2 separate regions of the Homo sapiens genome follow, and region 1 is linked to region 2. Evidence: promoter capture Hi-C in human tissues and cell types (Jung and others, 2019). All regions are on one chromosome and are shown on one strand. Each heading gives the region's core, a stretch centred on a gene start or on the middle of the fragment in contact. The rest is flanking DNA. Distances are from core to core; before and after follow the strand shown. Region 1 overlaps ZNF623 (zinc finger protein 623). Region 2 holds the start of SCRIB (scribble planar cell polarity protein).

Evidence for each region. The method cuts DNA at HindIII sites, captures the fragments that hold promoters and counts their contacts. A contact is called where the count stands out against the background at its distance.
Region 1: a fragment that was not itself captured here is called in contact with the fragment with the promoter of SCRIB in region 2 in 1 of the 25 tissues and cell types used here (H1 embryonic stem cells).

The regions. Positions count from the first base shown.
Region 1 is chr8:143,652,559-143,655,883 of GRCh38, forward strand. It overlaps ZNF623 (zinc finger protein 623), which reads left to right. Exons shown (of 2, transcript NM_001261843.2): 2 at 1-1,172. Among named protein-coding and RNA genes, the nearest start is that of ZNF623, 18 kb to the left of the region's middle. The HindIII fragment of the contact is 4,456 bases long and covers 1-3,325 here.
Region 2 is chr8:143,814,131-143,817,607 of GRCh38, forward strand. It overlaps SCRIB (scribble planar cell polarity protein), which reads right to left and starts at 1,643. Exons shown (of 37, transcript NM_182706.5): 1 at 1,084-1,643. The coding sequence starts at 1,242. PUF60 (poly(U) binding splicing factor 60) reads right to left here. Exons shown (of 12, transcript NM_078480.3): 9 at 3,462-3,477; 10 at 3,201-3,336; 11 at 2,780-3,015; 12 at 2,214-2,689. The coding sequence ends at 2,390. RefSeq lists enhancers at 21-685, 970-1,602, 1,603-2,235. The HindIII fragment of the contact is 41,605 bases long and covers 1-3,477 here.

The DNA of each region.
Region 1 (3,325 bases), core at 21-2,520, 160 kb before region 2:
TATCCTGTGCACATCCACGCCCTCCTGTGTGCCACCTTACAGCTCATGCAGAACTGTCTACTTGATCTGGAGGGCATTGACACCTGGCTCAGCTGGAACAGTGGGGACAGGAGGAGGCAGGTCTCAAGAGAAGGTCTTTACTTACTTGTCTGTATCTTTCTGTCTCACTCGAAAGGCACAGTCTCAATGCGCTACGTAACTCTTCTGTTGTAGCAGTTCTGAGGTTGAACTGAGCTCTTGTCATTTTCCATGCTCTCTGGCTCATTGTGTCATTTCAAAATGTATTGATATCTATAAGGAATAGTCCTCAATGTTGGGAAAACAGATGAGCAACCCACTACCCTGAAGTCATCCACCGTGTAGTGGGGAAGACGGAGATCACAGTAGGGTGAGTTAAGTATGTGCCCTCAGGTGTGAAGGAGCACAGGTGAGGGGGTGCCTGCTGTGGCACAGAGCTGGGAAGGCCTTACAGAAGAGGTGACATTTCAGCTGGGCCAGAGATCAGTAGAGAGCAGCTGAAGAAGAAAATAGGGTCCAGGAGAGGAATCTGCAGAAACATGGAGCCATGACAGATGGCTTTTTGGCTAGGACTGTTCGAAAGCAGGCGAGGTAAATGGACAGTGGACAGCCGCCTCGCCAAACTGTTAGTCTTTACCTCTGAATTTCATCTGGACATGAACCCCAAAGTCCAGTTTTGTAACGATATAATTTTTTTCTCATGAGGCCATATTTTGAGTTCTTAAATACTACCAACCCTGAACGTCTCAGGACAAATAATTCAAAAAAGAGATCTACATTTTCTGGAAAATCAGCATTACTAGAGATGTTTCAAATGTAGATTTTACCAGACCATTTTAATCAACTTTATTGAGATTCAATTTTCATATAGTAAAACGCCTATTTAAGTGTACAAGGTTTTGAAAAATCTATACACCTGTGTAACCACCACCACCTGTGTAACCACCACCGCCAGAACCAAAAACGTTTCTGTCACCCAAAGAAGTTCCCTTTTGCCTTTTCCTAGTTAAGCCCACTCCAGCCCCAGATAACCACTTTCTATCCTCATAGATTAGTGTTGCTTGGTTTAGAGCCTCATACAAATGGATTCATTTACTATGTGTTCTTTTGCGTCTGATGTCTCACTTTGGCATGTTTTTAGACTCATCCAAGCTGTTTTGTGTTTCAGTAGTTCTCCTTGCTGAATAGTATTCCATTGTGTGGATAAGCCATCATTTGTTTATTCATCCATGTGTTAATGGGTTTCCAGTCTCGGCTCTTAAAACTATGAGCATTTGTGTAAAAGTATGTATTTGCACATGTGTTTTTATTTCTCTTGGGTAAGTACCTAGGACTTTAATTGCTGTGTTGTAAGTGTCTTAGTTCATTCAGGCTGCCATAACAAAATACCATCAACTGGGAGGCTTATAAACAACAGAAATTTATGTTTTACAGTTCTGGAGGCTGGGAAGTCCAAGATGAGGGTGTCAACATTTGGTGTCTAGTGAGGGCCTGCTTCCTTTTAAGTAGATGTCTTTTTACTGTGACTGCACGTGGTGGAAAGGGACTAGCAAGCTTACCCCATTCATGAGGGCTCTCCCCTTGTGATTCTGTCCCCTCCCCAAGACCCCACCTCATATCATCTTATGGGTTAGGAATTTGACATGAATTGTGCAAGGATGTAAACATTCAGTCCATTGCAATACGTGTTTCTAACTTCCTAAGAAATTGTCACACAGCCCTCTGTAGTGGTTGAATCATTTTACACTATTACTACATTATGGGAAGATTCCAGTTGCTCCATATCTTTGCTAACACTTGGCATTGTCAGTCTCTTAAAATTTAATCCACTCTAGCCTCCTTATGATTTTAATTTGTATTTGCCCACTGAATAATGTATGTCTATGATTTCATCTGCTTATTGCTTTTCCGTGTCGTCTTTTGTGATGTGTCTGTTCGTGCCTTTTGCCTGTTTTTAAGTTGGGATGCTTATTGTTGACTCAAGTTCTTTCCATATTCTGCATGAAAAACATACATGTAATATATAGAATTCTTTGTCTCCATTTGTGACAAATATTGTGAATATTTTCATGTTTGGTTTGCCTGTTCATTTTCTTAATGGTGTCTTTTGAATATTTTTTATTAAGCCTAATTTATCAAAGATTTGGGTGTGGTGGCTCATGTCTGTAATCCCAGCACTTTGGGAGGCCAAGGTAGGCAGATCACCTGAGGCCAGAAGTTTGAGACCAGCCTGGCCAACGTGGTGAAACCCCGTCTCTACTAAAAATACAAAAATTATCTGGGCGGGTGGCACACCCCTGTAGTCCCTGCTACTCGGGAGGCTGAGGCAGGAGAATCACTTGAACCCAGGAGGCAGAGGTTGCAGTAAACCAAGATAATAATAATAATGATTTATGATATTTTATAATAATTTGAGTTTAAGAAATTTGCCTACTCAAAGGACATGATTTTTTCCTATGTTTTTTATTTTTATGGAACTTTTATAGTTTTACCTTTTACATTTAAGTCTGTGATCCATTTTGAGTTCATTTTTGTGTACCATATGTGATAAGGGTCAAGATTCACTTTTTTATCTGTGTGGTTGGTTGGTTCGGTTCTATTTGTTGAGACTCTACTTTCCCAATGACCAAGTCTTCACAGGTTTGTAAAAACTGAAGTGACATAGAAGTGGTCTGTTCTGGACACCATTCTTCTTGTGTGTATAACTTTACACCAATATGACACTATATTGATTACTGTAGTTTTATTTGAGGCAGAAATCTCATTCTGTTGCCCAGGCTGGAGCGTAGTGGCACAATCACAGCTAATGTAACCTCGAACATCCGGGCTCAAGTGAGCCTCTTTCCTTAGCCTCCCAAGTAGTTGGGACTGTAGGCATGCATCACCACATCTTGCTAATTTTTTATATTTTTTTGTAGAGATGGGGGTCTCACTATGTTGACCAGGCTGGTCTTGAACTCCTGGCCTCAAGGGATCCTCCTGCCTCAGCCTCCCAAAGGGATTACAGGTGTGAGCCACCACTCCTGGCCAACTGTAGTTGAACTCAGGTATTGGAAGGGCTTCCGTTTTGTTCTTTTCCCATTTTTTTTTTTTTGACTTCTAGATCCTTTGCATTTTCGTATAAAATTTGAAGTCAACTTCTATCAACTTCAGGCCAGGCCCGTGGCTCATGCCTGTATAATCCCAGCACTTTGGGAGGCCGAGGCAGGCGGATCACTTGAGGTCAGGAGTTCAAAACCAGCCTGGCCAAGATGGTGAAACCCCATCTCTACTAAAAATACAAAAAAATTAGCCAGGCGTGGTGGCA
Region 2 (3,477 bases), core at 393-2,892:
AGGACACGGACTCTGTGGCAGAGACCACTGCAGAGCAGAGAAGAGCTCCTGGACACGTGAGTGTCACAAGTCAAGAGTCCCTAGGCCTCTGTCTGCTCCAGGTCACACCGGGTCCTGGGGTCTAACCACGACACCCCATTTGCAAAAAAAGGAAAGAAACACACGGTACACACGCCCACTGTGGCTGCCTCCCTCTACTCTTCACACCAGCCTCCACTCTGAGAAGACACCTGCTGGCGACCAGACAAAGCCCCAATCCCCTACCCTGTGTCTTACCTCAGGGCCCACCCAGCCCCTGAACCACTTCTGCCACCCTCCAGGGGCCCACACTGGCCTCTGCTACTGCATCCTGACAACAAGCCTGGCCTGGTTCTGCAGCAAGAACTCAGTAAACGCTCCCCACAATAACACAGTACCACAGGCACAGTGCTACGCGCGAGGCCTGCAGGTGGCCACAGAGGACCGAGCTGTCACTGCCACGGCCAGAACAGGGTCACATTCTTTGGGACACCCAACCCCTAGGTACTGATCACCCAGCACCCCATCTCCAGAAAAGAAATACTTTTTAATCTGCTTTCTCCAGCCTCCTTTCTTGTAGCAGCCTTAGGAGAGCACCTGACCACGAGAAGCAAGGGTAAAGAAAGGGGGACAGCGAACAGATCCGAGAGCAAAGAGTACATCAAGAGGGCTCCCCCACTCACCCCTGCACCCAGCAAAAAAGGAGAGGAGGTCTGGACCCACCTCCAGAGCGGCCCAAGAAGCTAGTACTCATCAGCCACCTGAATCCAAGTTCCACCCTAACCCCATCCACCTCCCTGAATCCCCACGGGTTTCACTCTGAGGCTCCGCCTCCAGGCTCGGTGACAATCGCTATCCCCAGGCAAGCACCTGATGACCGCTGCCACCTGCGCCAGCCAGGGCGGCTGGAAGAGAAGGGTGGGGCTGGCTGGGGTGGGGACCTGGCCAGTGCAAACCAGCAGGGCCGGCTGGAGGCTGCGGTGACTCGCCCGGGCAGATTCTGCCGCCGGAGGAATCACGGGCTGGGGGCGCGCCTTTGGGCGGCAGGTGCGGGCGGCCGCTCACCTTGGGCAGCTCGCGCAGCTGGTTGGCGTCGAGCAGCAGCTCCTCCAGGCTGCGGCTGTAGCGGTAGATCTCCTCCGGCACGGCCTGCAGCGAACAGTGCCGCTTGTCCACCGACTCCACGTGCCGGTTGCAGCGCCACAGCGGGATGCACTTGAGCATGGTGCGGGTGGGCGGCGCGGGCTCCGGCGGCGGCGCTCGGCGGGCTCGGGGCCGGGGGGCGGGGCTCAGTCCGCATGGGCGCCGCGCATGGGGAGGGGGCGCAGGCAGGGGGCGGGCCGCCCGAGACTGGACGGGGACGCGGCCGCGGCCGGCGCTGGGCCCGGCCCGCGCTCGGAACGCTCGGACTGCGGGCCTGGGCAGGGGGCGCGGCCCGGCGGGTCTCAGACTCTTAGGAAGCGCGGGGAGCGGCGGCGGCGGCGGCTCCGCATCCCGCTTGGTCCTGCTCAGCTCGTCCCGCCCGCTCGTCCGCCCGCTGTGCCGCACCGGAACCGCCGCTGCCCGCCGGACTGCCCCGCCGACACCCACCCGGCCGCCGCGCAGCCCGTCGGGAAGCCGAGTCCGGCCCTCGCCGCCTAGCACGCCCGGACTGCGGCCCCCAGAAGGCCCCGCGCGCCGCCGCCTCTGAGGACCCGTAGCGGCACCGCGCAAAGCGTGCCGGGAAGCCGGGCCCGCCCCGCGCGCGGGATATTGGGAGCTACAATCCACGAGAGGCGGCGCCCTCCGCCCTCCGGTCTTCAGCCCGGCCCCTGGCCCCGCGGCATTTGGCCACGAATCTTAACGCACAGCCTCCTCCCGGGAAGCGACCATGCCCGCCCGCCCGCCTTGGACGGCCGGCTCTGCGGCACAAAAGCACTGGCAGCGCGCGCTGTCCAGCGGGTCGCGGTGTCCCGGTGCCCAGCCTTCTCTCAGCACCACCCTGCGGGGACGGCTGCGAGCCCGCGCGCGAGAGCCTGGCGCCCCAGGCAGCCCCGCCCACCCAGCCGCCGCCACCCGCGGGACGGGGCCCGGGGCGCCAACCCCCTGCCCAGGTCTCGCCCACGGCAGGCCCCTCCTGCCAACAGGAAGCAGGTCCAGAGACCCCCCCAACCCTGCCTCCTCGCCCTAGACCCCCTAAGGACACACGCCCAGGATCGGTGACAGGACCGACGGCAGACACACGGACGTTCAGGGCCAGCAGCATCCGCACCTTTATCCGCACTGTAGGCTGGGCTGGGCAGAGCGCGCCTGGCCCCGGGGACACCACTGTATCACTATAAAACCCAGAGGAAACAAGGAACAAGTGCAAGTCCGGGGAGAGGGACCACTGTCACGCAGAGAGGTCACTGTTATCAAAACGCTCCTGGTCGTACACTTCAGCCACCACCTTGCGGCCAGCAAACCAGCGGCCATTGAGGGCCTGGATGGCCTTATGAGTCTCAGAGGCTATGGAAAACTCCACAAAGATCTTGACAATGATTTCTGCATCCTCCTCCTCGCCTTGTTTCTCTTGGTAGATGATGACGCGGTTCACGGCCCCGAACTTGCCACACTCCTCTGTCACCTCCCCTTCCAGGTCATCATCGATGTCCTTGGGGTCCACCATGTTGCGCAGAACCATCACTGTAGACTGTGGGGCAGGGCCGAGGGGAAGACAGCTGAGCACTGCGGCCCCGCCCCCCTACCCTCTCCCCCGCCACCACCCTGCCCCTCTGCCTACCTCCTGCTTGCGGAGCAGCTTCTGCATCACCATGTGTCGGGCGCTACTGCCCGAGATGCTCATGTGCTCCTGCTCGCTCAGCATCTCTGGCCGCTCTGACTCGGGAAACAGCTCCTCTTCTTCCTTCTCCTTCTTGGGCTCCAGGAGACCCAGCGTTGGAGGGCTGGCCAGGATGGGGTTCACCACTCCCACCGAGGGGATGGTGACCGGGATAGGAGGACGGGCTGGGGTCACACCTGCAGGAAAACCAACCAGGTCCATCAGTCACTCCCTACCACCCCCCTTCCCAGAAAGGCACAGAGCTGGCCTGCCCTGGGCTCAGAGGGTTGTGCCCAGACCACCAGGGCCAGGCAGCTGAGGGCAGCGAGCCGAGAGATGCCAGGACAGGAGAGGAGAGGATCTGGTACCACTTAAGACTCACCTGTGATGACTCCAGGTGCCTGGGCAGCCATGACAGCCTGGGGCAAAGTGCCCAGGGGCTGGGCCAGGGTCAGTGCTGGGGACACCAGTCCAGGTGTGCCCAGGGTACCCAGCACCGCTGCTCCGGCCACTGCTTCCTGCAACCCAAAAGGTCACCGTGCTCAGTCCCTGGTCTGGCTACTCAAGACCACCTTGAATCAGTCTCCAAGGAATCAGGGGCCAGCCCGCCCACCCTCAAGCCGACAGCTGTGTGGGCCCTCACCTGAGCTGTGATCTTG